Linked DNA regions of Homo sapiens: region 2 is linked to region 1. Evidence: promoter capture Hi-C in 16 types of primary human blood cells and fetal thymus (Javierre and others, 2016). All regions are on one chromosome and are shown on one strand. Each heading gives the region's core, a stretch centred on a gene start or on the middle of the fragment in contact. The rest is flanking DNA. Distances are from core to core; before and after follow the strand shown. Region 1 has its middle 16 kb from the start of MMP12. Region 2 holds the start of MMP27 (matrix metallopeptidase 27).

The links. Contacts are between HindIII fragments. The CHiCAGO score rates a contact against its expected background, and 5 or more counts as called.
Region 2: the fragment with the promoter of MMP27 here is called in contact with a fragment that was not itself captured in region 1 in 1 of 17 cell types (M1 macrophages); the score reaches 5.8 in M1 macrophages.

What each region holds. Positions count from the first base shown.
Region 1 is chr11:102,888,845-102,893,910 of GRCh38, forward strand. No RefSeq gene overlaps it. Among named protein-coding and RNA genes, the nearest start is that of MMP12, 16 kb to the left of the region's middle. The HindIII fragment of the contact is 179 bases long and covers 2,769-2,947 here.
Region 2 is chr11:102,702,676-102,707,741 of GRCh38, forward strand. It overlaps MMP27 (matrix metallopeptidase 27), which reads right to left and starts at 3,094. Exons shown (of 10, transcript NM_022122.3): 1 at 2,938-3,094; 2 at 1,862-2,100; 3 at 295-443; 4 at 78-206. The coding sequence starts at 3,039. The HindIII fragment of the contact is 3,149 bases long and covers 2,894-5,066 here.

The DNA.
Region 1 (5,066 bases), core at 1,608-4,107:
CACCTCAGCCTCTCAAGTAGCTGGGACTACTGGTGTGTGCCATCACACCTGGCTGATTTTTTAAATTTCTGTAGACATAGGATCTCACTGTGTTGCCCAGGATGGTCTCAAATTCCTGGGCTCGAGCAATCCTCTCACCTTGTTCTCCCAAAGTGCTGGGATTATGGGGGTGAGCCACTGTGCCTGGCCTTATTTAGTGTTTTTCTTCAGGAGTTTCTAAAATTTTTTGTGGCTTTTCCAACTATTGACTGTTAACAAAATTTTTTATTAGGGGATTTCTTTTCAGAGATACACTAATTTCAGTTTTTGTCAAGAAGGAATTCCACCCATATCCACATCTGGCACAGACCTAACAACAGCCATTGCATAATTAGGGGTTTCTACTCCCCTCTCTCCCGCAACCTGTCTTCTCTCTTTGCTGGACAGAAAGATCCCATCTCGTTACGGTGTGGCAGCTCTGAATATGCTTTACCCATTTCAGTCTACACATACGTTCAGGGAATTAAAGGAAGACACGGCCTCTTTCAAAACGCTTTAAAGAACTGTTTAAATTTATCTCCCAGTCTAAATCTGCCTATTTCTCTAACTGGTACCATAATTTTCACCACCATAACTGAAACTCCAGAAGGGTTATGGGTTGTGCTGTTTTGTTCATTGACGTATCCCAGTACCTAGACCAGTGCCTAGATGCAGTATGTGCCCAGTAGATATTTGATAGAGAGAGTGAAGAATACTTCCACTCATCCAATCTCCAACTCTTTCATGTACTTAACAAACATTTTGTTAACTTTTAGGGTCACCTGATACTCTTCCTTTACTCTATTCCCCTCCCACCACCACTTTTAATCAATTTTGAAGTCTTGTTATTTCATGTACTACTTATCACACTCATCTTCATTCTTTTTCTAATCCCATCTAGTCCATAAGTTTAACATCTCATACCTTGAGTCTTAAATGTCCTAATTAGTCTTTTAATTCCATTCTCTGTGAGACACACAGTTGTCAGAATTTTTTTCCTATGTTCCATTTTTTACATAGTGTTCCTTTTCTCAAAAATTCTCAAATATTCTCAAAATAAACTGAAAGGGGTTATCTCAGAGCAGAGCAATTACAAGGGATTTTTACTTGCTCCTTTGTATTTTTCTGTATTTTCTGAATTTATAGATTAATTTTTATTTCAAAATTCCAATACATTTTTTTAAAAAATAATATCATTGTTTCAAAGTTAATTCCACAAATATTTCCCGCCTGTGTGTCAGGCATTGTTTTAGGTGCTAGGGATGCAATTCTTGTTTTCAGGGCGCTCACAGTGTAAGAGGGGAGACAGAGAATGAAACAGATAATGACAATCAACTGATAAAGATGTATCCTCTGTTTGCTGCACAAGGGGCTTTACATGAATGACCATGCAGAGTTATGGATCCCAGAAGGGACACAGGTGGGGAACACACCCTTTTCTTTTTTTTTTCTTTTTGGAGACAGGGCTCACTGTGTTGCCTAGGCTGGAGTGCAGTGGTGTGACCATAGCTCATGCAGCCTCAACCTTCTGGGCTCATGTAATCCTCCCACCTCAGCCTCTTGAGTAGCTGGGACCACAGACGAGCCCCACCACACCCGGCTACACCCTTCTTCTGAATCCTAGAATAAATCAAAGAGAATCTTAAATCAGGTGAGAGTGTGAGGGAAGGCAGAGGGTGAGGAAGTTGAAGCCCACAGAAGTGAGAGAGTGTGCAACGCCCAGGAGGATTAGGGTGACACAACTGAAGCGCAGAGGTGTTTGTGTGTGTGTGAGAGAGAGAGAGATATGGGTCAAGGATGTTTCTGGAGTGGGAACTGCAGAGGAATGCAGGAGCCCAGATTCTGCTAAGGAGTTCCAATTCAGTCTTGACAGCACTGGGAACCACTGAAGAATTTAAGTAGAGGCAAGGCATGGTCATATTTGCGTTTAGAAACGTCATTCTGGTCACCTTGCGGAGACTGTGTAAGATACAGTCAGAACCCAATTTATCAAGGTCAAATTTCTTCACTTGTCAAAGTCCTTACCATCTGCCCCCTTCCTCCTTTTCTTGCCTCTTCTCCCACAGTTCCCTGCAACCAACACTGCCAGCCTTCTATTCCTATCCCTCTGACTTTGCTGCTGTAGTTACTTCTTCCTGACAAAGAATTTTTCTTCCTCTGTACCCCTTGATCTCTCCAGATCTTAACCTCCCTCCACCTCTCAGATACTCCCAGCCACAGTCCCATCTCCCAGCCACAGTCCCATCTCCCTGCTTTTCATGCTCCTAGGAATTGTGACTTTGCTTTATATCTGCCTGTGGTCCCAGCTATCACCACACACCTACAAAAAGCAAAACTCAAGATGTGCTGTTTCAAATGATAGTGACTTAAAATTATGATCCAGGCAGGGTTTTAATACCTTAATACCTGCCCTGAGATGGATGTATCCCCAAGTGGTGGATGTGGGTTGGATTGTGTAATTTCCTGTGGGCAAAGCTTCTTTTTCACCTAGATAAACTCTGAAGCTCTCTTCCTGGAGTTCCATTTTATTAGCTTACACAAGTGTACTCCCTGTTTTTAAAAAAATTATAGTTTTACATTTTATTTTTTATAGAAGTGGAGTCTCACTATATTGCCCAGGCTGATCTCAAACTTCTGGGCTCAAGCGATCCTCCAGTCTTAGGCTCCCAAAGGGATTTGGGATTACAGGTGCAAGTTACTATGCCTGGCCTGTACTCCCTTTTAAAGGTTGATTTTTTGATGTAAAAGAAAGCTTTACCATTTATTTTTACTTCAATATGAAACCTTCTCATGTGCTTTTTCTTTTTGGTGTTTGAAAGCAACCTAGCTAGAGAACAATGATAATGTGGGGCTGAGAGGAAACATCAGAAATCTGAGGTTGGAGAGGAAATGTACATGATAGGAATGGAAGCCACCAAGTCAGAAGACAAGCTTCCCAAACTTCTTCATGGTATAGGGCAGTAGTAGAGCTCAGGTTCTAGAGCACTGTTTCTCAAAGTGTGGTCCCAGACCAGCAGCATCAGCCTTTCCTAGGAATTTGTTAGGAATGCAAAATGTTGGTTTCTTTCCCAGACTTCTTGAATCAGAAACTCTAGAGGTGGAGTCCAGCAATGGCAGTTTGGGGACCACTGCTCTAGCATTTAAAGGAAGGATCTACAGAGGATTTGCGCTACAGCCTGCCTTTAGTTTTTTTTCCCTTTTTCCCTCTTTCCCTGCTCCTAGGCAACAAAGATAAAAATATAGTAAAAACTAGGTGCTTCTCTGAATGGCTGGATTTGAAGAAGTTCTATTTTAAAACTGCATTTAAAAAAAAGGGCCAGGTGGTTCACACCTGTAATCCTAACACTTTGGGAGGCCGAGGCTGGTGGATCACTTGAGCCCAGGAGTTTGAGACCACCCTTAACAACATAGTGAAACCCCATCTCTACAAAAAGCTGAGTGTGGTGGCATGTTCCTGTAGTCCCAGCTACTCAGGAGGCTGAGGTGGGGGAATCACTTGAGCCCAGGAGGTGGAGGTTGTAGTGAGCTGAGATTATGCCACTGCACTCCAGCCTGGGTAATAGAGTGAGACACCACCTCAAAAAAAAAAAAAAAAAAAAAAAACACCAACAAAAAAAACTCATTGATTACCTGCAGGGCACCAGCCACTGTCTGAGGCACAGTAAACAGAAAGAGAGTAACTATCCCTGCACTAGAGGAGGCCTGCTCAAGGCAGTATGTGTGTGTGTGTGTTTGTATCCGTGTTGGGATGGGGATGAAGTGGAAAGTGGGAAAGGCTTTTTGGAAATGATGAATCCCAAATTGCGTTTTGAAAAGTCGATTGGAGCACGAGGTCAAAGGTAGGAAGATGCACTTTAGCCAAAGGACCAGTTGTAGAAATGCTCAGTAATTCCCTTGTGAATATTTTGATCCAGAAAGATATACTAGAGCATTGCAGAAACGCAGCTGCCCAGGAGTTTGGTTTTTACTGCCTGACTTCACTTTGATTTCATGGCTTGGATGAAAAAGAGACATCTACTTCCTAGTTTCTCTCTATCTTAAAGTTCAATATTGAATCCAACTCTATTTTCTGGCTGTCTTTCAAGGATTTTCCTGAGTCTTCTGTTCCCACTGTTTCTGCCTAGATCTTCCACATACTAGAAGCACCAATCTCCTCCAACCATCTACAGCTCCCTGTGACCAAGATCATCGTGGGCAAAACTGATTCTTCTAATCAACATTTATCACACTTGCTTTTCACCAATGAACTTGGTCTTTAGAGCATTTACAAACAAGTATGAGGTGCCTTCCCTCAGAAAACTCACAACCCAATTAAAGACACAAGACCTAGATATAAAAAATAACAATTTAGACTGCAAATGACTTAGTAAAGAATTATATGAACTGTAAACCCCATAGAAGGACATGGCTTGACAAGTTATGGGCCACAGACCAAATCCAGCCTGCAAGCTAAAAATGGCCCTTCCTTCCACTTTTATTTTATTTTATTGTTGTTGGTTTTTTTTTTTTTAAGACAAGGTCTCACCATATTGCCTAAGCTGGTCTCAAACTATTGGGCTCAAGTGATCTTCATGCCTCAGTTTCTTGAGTACTGGGATGACAGCACATGTCACTGACCCAGGTTCCATTTTTAAATGGTTGAAAAATGAAATAAAAGTAATACACAGAGACACATGAAAACTATATGAAATTCAAATATCAGTATCTACAAATAAAATTTTATTGAAACACAGTCATATGCATTCAATTATATATCATCTATGGCTGCTTTCTTTCTCCAAAGGCAGAGTTGATTTTTTTTCTTTTTTTGAGACAGAGTCTCACTGTGTGATATGGTTTAGCTGTGTCCCCACCCAAATCTCATCTTGAATTGTAACTCTAACAATTCCTATGTGTCATGGGAGGAACCCGGTGGGAGGTGATTGAATTATGGGGGTGAGTCTTTCCTGCACTGGTCTCCTGATAGTGAATGTGTCTCACAAGATCTGATGGTTTTAAAAAGGGGAGTTTCCCTGCACAAGTTCTTCTTCTTTTGTCTGCTGCCATAT
Region 2 (5,066 bases), core at 1,844-4,343, 190 kb before region 1:
CAGCTAGTTACAAAGCTATTCTTTTCAGGGATTCTTTAGAATAATAAGATTTTGTTCATAAAGAAAATTAGACTCACCTGCTCCATCCTTGGTCCAGTTTTCATCCTCATCAAAATGAGTGTCACCACCCAGACCCGGACCAGGAGGAAAGGCATGGCCAAGCACTCCCAAGGGACCATCAAAATAGCGAGGACACCGACCATGGACTGAGATACAATTTATGCGAGGAAAAAAGATCAGCTTCCTCAAATCTCCTGAGATAAAAATAGCTTTGCTCTCTGTTGAAAACCTTACCTCGAGTCCTAAAGGCAATCATGATGTCTGCAATCCCCTTTGAAATCTTGGTGAATTTTAGTGGAGTGACTTTGCTCCACACTTCTAAACCTTCTTGGATAGCCTCATCCACAGCAGCTCGTGCCATATCCGGAGTATAGTTTATTATTCTTAAAAATTAACAAAAATATGTCAATTTCTGGCTTATTCATGCATGAATATACACACATAACTACAAAAAACATTTCTAGCTTATCAATAATGTGCTGCAGTAACTTTGGTGTGGTGCAATTATCTTACAGTTGCATTAGCACTTTATTTAAATGAAATACTCTTACATATACTATAGAATTAAATTCCTTTATCTTCCCTATGAATCAGTAGTATTAACACTTCAACAAAGGAGGCTGAAAGAGGTTAAATGACTTCACTAAGATCACATCCCAAGACAGCATTTATCTCATGTACGTGTTGGCTTGTATATGAAAGTATTATAAAGACATTCTTAAAAAGAACTGAGAATCATTTTTTTGAATGGCTTGTAGAAATCAGTCTTGTGCATGTACCATATATTAAGAACTTTTTTTTTTTTGAGACAGAGTCTCGCTCTGTCCCCCAGGCTGGAGTGCAGTGGCGCGACCTCGGCTCACTGCAACCTCTGCCTCCCAGGTTCAAGTGATTCTCATGCCTCAGCCTCCTGAGTAGCTGGGACTACAGGCGCGTGCCACCAGGCCCAGCTAATTTTTGTGTTTTTTAGTAGAGATGGGGTTTTGCCACGTTTGCCAGGCTGGTCTCAAACTCCTGAACTCAGGTGATCCGTCTGCCTCAGCCTCCCAAAGTGCTGGGATTACAGGCATGAGCCACCACACCCAGTCCATATATTAAGAATCTTACATGAGAACCACAAGAATTGCTCAGGAAAAGATTTTTCTCGTTTATGTTGCCTATCTTGCTAAATTCATTTTTATCTCAAGTCCTAGCACTCAGTAAGATGAAAGAAGAACTATCAGAAAGGCTGTAGAGTGATGGTCAAGGTGACTGTCTCTGTCTCAGATCAAAGGCATACCTCATCCTCTTCCTGCCAATGAGTCAGCCTGCCCCCTTTTCCTTGAGATGTCTGAGGGAAACACCCTACTTTGCTCTGAGGGGCTCATCTGAGATTTGGCAACTCTCTCTCTCACACACACATGTCTCTGACATAAACTGGTTGTGTTCCAGGGTCTCCCCATTTTCTCTTGGGCACCCTTCATTCATGCTGTCAAGTATCTGCAGTCAGATGACAGTATTTGTTGGGAGCTTATATGATGGTGGCAGAGGCTAGAGATGAGAGCATGTCTGCTGGAGCCAGTAAGAGCTGTGTAACCTCAGCCACGGTAAATAAACTTTTGTTTCAGTTTCTCTGTATTTAAGATGGTGGTAGCAGCAGAGCCTACAGCACAGGTTTGTTGGGAAGATACCGTAAATGGAGCCTAAGATGTGCTGTGCACACAGGAAGTGCTCAGTCAATTGAATGAATATTATTCTGTTCCTTGGAAATTATCTTTATGTTCCTTTGGATTAGGCGGAAATAAGCTGGCAGAAGCATTACCTGTAGGTGAGGTTGTATTTTCTCCACCCAGGGAGGGTGTAGCCATACTGGCCCACATCAGGCACCCCACACCTGGGTGTCTTCATGATCTCAAGGGTGTTTGAGTCCAGTTTTCCAGTCACTGTCAATCCAAAAAATGCTTGCATTTCCCGAATTTTGTCATCTATGAGACTCCTATTCTTGCTTTGAACAAGATGATTCCCTTCTATTTCAAGAGAGTAGAACTGGTTGAGATATGCCTGACCAAAAAGATAAGAAAAAAAAAAAAGAGGCACAGACTACAGGAGAGCAAATCTCCATCTCAGGATAAAGCAAAATTGCCTAAAATTCCTTCTGGCAATAGGAAAGGGGAAAAAAAAGAAGTAATGAGAGAAAGTGAGGAGTGAAGGAGGAAAGAAGAAAGGAAGGACACAAAGAGGAAAATAACGAGTCACCCTGCTCTTTCAATTTCCAAGACTTGGTTGACTTATGAGTGACCAGAATTAGCCAAAGCACGCAGCTCTTAAACCTCCACAGAAGAGAATGAAGCTTCGTCTGTCTGTTGAATGATGACCTATCTTACATATTTTTGCTGTTACTTTCATTTTGGTGTTTCTTTGAAACAAGTTCTAGGATAAATAAGTGATTATCCATTTTGCACATGTATTTGCTTTAACCAAAAATAAAAAGTTAACTGAACTGATTTTTAGAGGGAATCTGTAAAGCAATGTATTTTTTTTCATACATATAGGGATTAGGGCTCCAAATTGTAGATTGGGTCCTCCTGGTTGTCTTGAAATGCTTTTATAGTGATCTCCATACCTTGCAGGGCTCTCTCCTTTCTCCTCGCACTAAACATCCCTTCATTTGTGACCATTGCTAAAAGTTATAGCAGATCCTTTCCCCCTCCCTGTGCCAGCCCTCCTCCCCAACACAATTTCCTGATATCGTCAGAGATAGACAAATGAAAAGCAGTTCCTTCTCACAAAAAAGTTCAGGACTCTTTTGCAGGAATGTGTTTTCTTTTTAGGTCCCAAGAGAATCAATAAAATAAGCTTTTTATCAATAGTCATCGATATCATTTATTAAGACAGTACCTGAGCCAGTTGCATATTTTCTTCATTTTCCGTCATCCGGACTAAGGGAAATGCAGAAGAAAATGTTATAAAGAACAAAAACAGAAGCAGAAGGCGCTTCATTCCTCTCTTTCTTCAGCTGAAGCCGGTTCTGTTAGCACAGAATTTAGAAAATAATAGTGAGACGTGGCATGAATTGGCTTGTATCATCATTTAATTAATAACAGAAAGGGACACTTGCCATAAAGTGTGTCATGATTTGCTTTTTTTTTTTTTTTTTTTTGACTGAGCTGATTTTGTAATCTTGGCCTGCAATTGTTTAGTAAACACAGTTAGTGCTTATTACTGAATTGAATATACTGGGAAGTGAGCCTCCAAGTTATTTTTTTTTCCTTGCAAAGTTTTCTTTTGAAGGCAATCTCAGAATATCTTGGTAGGATGTTATCATAAAAAGACAAATGAATCAGGAGTCAGATTACCCTTATTAACTAAGATAAACTTCAAATGTTTATTGAATTCCTACTGTTTGCCTGCCCCTGTGAATGCAATCTTGTTGGAGAATTCAGACACATACAGAAATTAATGTAGGACAAAAAGGAGGCAAGTGGGCAAATACACAGTGCAGATTGTAAAGACTAAGAAGGGCCAAAGGCAGATCATTGCTTATGAGTGTGGCCTTGAGGTTTTATGCAAGTTAAATACAGCCTGCACTGGGGCTTGCACTAGGGCTTGCTCTGGGTTTTGGAGAATGTGTAGAATTTGGATTTACAGAGGAAGGAAGAAGAAGTATGAGTGCAAAGAGGCCATGGGAAGGAGGTAACACAGCAGAAATAAGCTGCAGGAAATCTGGCCTGACTGGAACAAAATACATATGTAGACAGCTATGGAAGATGGGATGGAGGGTCTCATGGACAAGACAGCTGACTGGGAAGATGAAGAGTCATAGAGGTCATGGATGATGAAGGCCAAAATTAACATCAGAAGTGAGAATATAGTTAGTGAGAGCCTTTTGGATTAATTTCAATATATTCTTCTTTACTTGGGCTACTTTTAGATGAAGGAACAGTCTTAGTTACAGCAATGTCCTCCCTCACTTGTCCTCCCCTTTTCTTCTACCAATTATTAAAATTTTCTTCCCTTTCTTCCCAAATGTTAACTCCTCAATCGATACACCTTTCTAAATCTTCCTTGTCCATATCCTAAACAAAATTTATATGGCATAGCTGAGGAACTTATAGGATCTAAGTAGATACATACTTCCTTTGCATTTAAAGCTCATCCCAGTTATAAATCTTGTTTCAGAAATATTATTATTTACTGTTTTAATATATGTATATAGTTTAAATTGTTTAATTGGCCTCTGGAGCAATGGGATGAAGGGGAGAAGGCAGACATGATCAGGATTTGTGTTATAATGGTATTAAGTACAAGTATGCTAAGTACAAGTATGCTCATTGTATTGTTCTTTTGTGTTTTTTAAACTCTAAAATATTTCAGAACAAAATTTAAAAAAAAATAGAGTTACCAGAAAAAGGGAAGTCAAATGGTGCTATCTTGTTGTAACGAAAAAGCATCTCTCTGCCCTAACCTTTCGCTCCTTCAAGTCCTGCTCCCCAAAGGTAACTTCTTTAAATTATTTTTATAGCTTTTTATCTTTATGTTTAACTCCACATTTGTAAATAACGTGCTTATGCTACTATTTCTCGAGTTTTCAAAGTTAAATGTTATTATTAACATCTTCCTATGGAAAAGAAGGACTTAACACTCCTTCTGCTTTCCTAATTTGGTTATAGGAATGTTTAAGCCCGTAATCAGCGTTCATACAATTATGACCATGAAAATATTATTCACAAGAGAATCACGTAGTATACTATGATTACATATCCTTTTCTTTTTTTTCCCTTTTTTTTTGAGACGGACTCTCGCTCTGTCACCCAGGCTGGAGTGCATTGGCACAATCTCGGCTCACTGCGACATTTGCCTCCCGGGTTCAAGCAATTCTCCTGCCTCAGCCTCCCATGTAGCTGAGACTACAGGCATGCACCACCATGCCTGGCTAATTTTTGTATTTTTAGTAGAGATGGGGTTTCACCATGTTGACCAGGCTGGTCTTGAACTCCTGACCTCAGGTGATCCACCCCCCTCAGCCT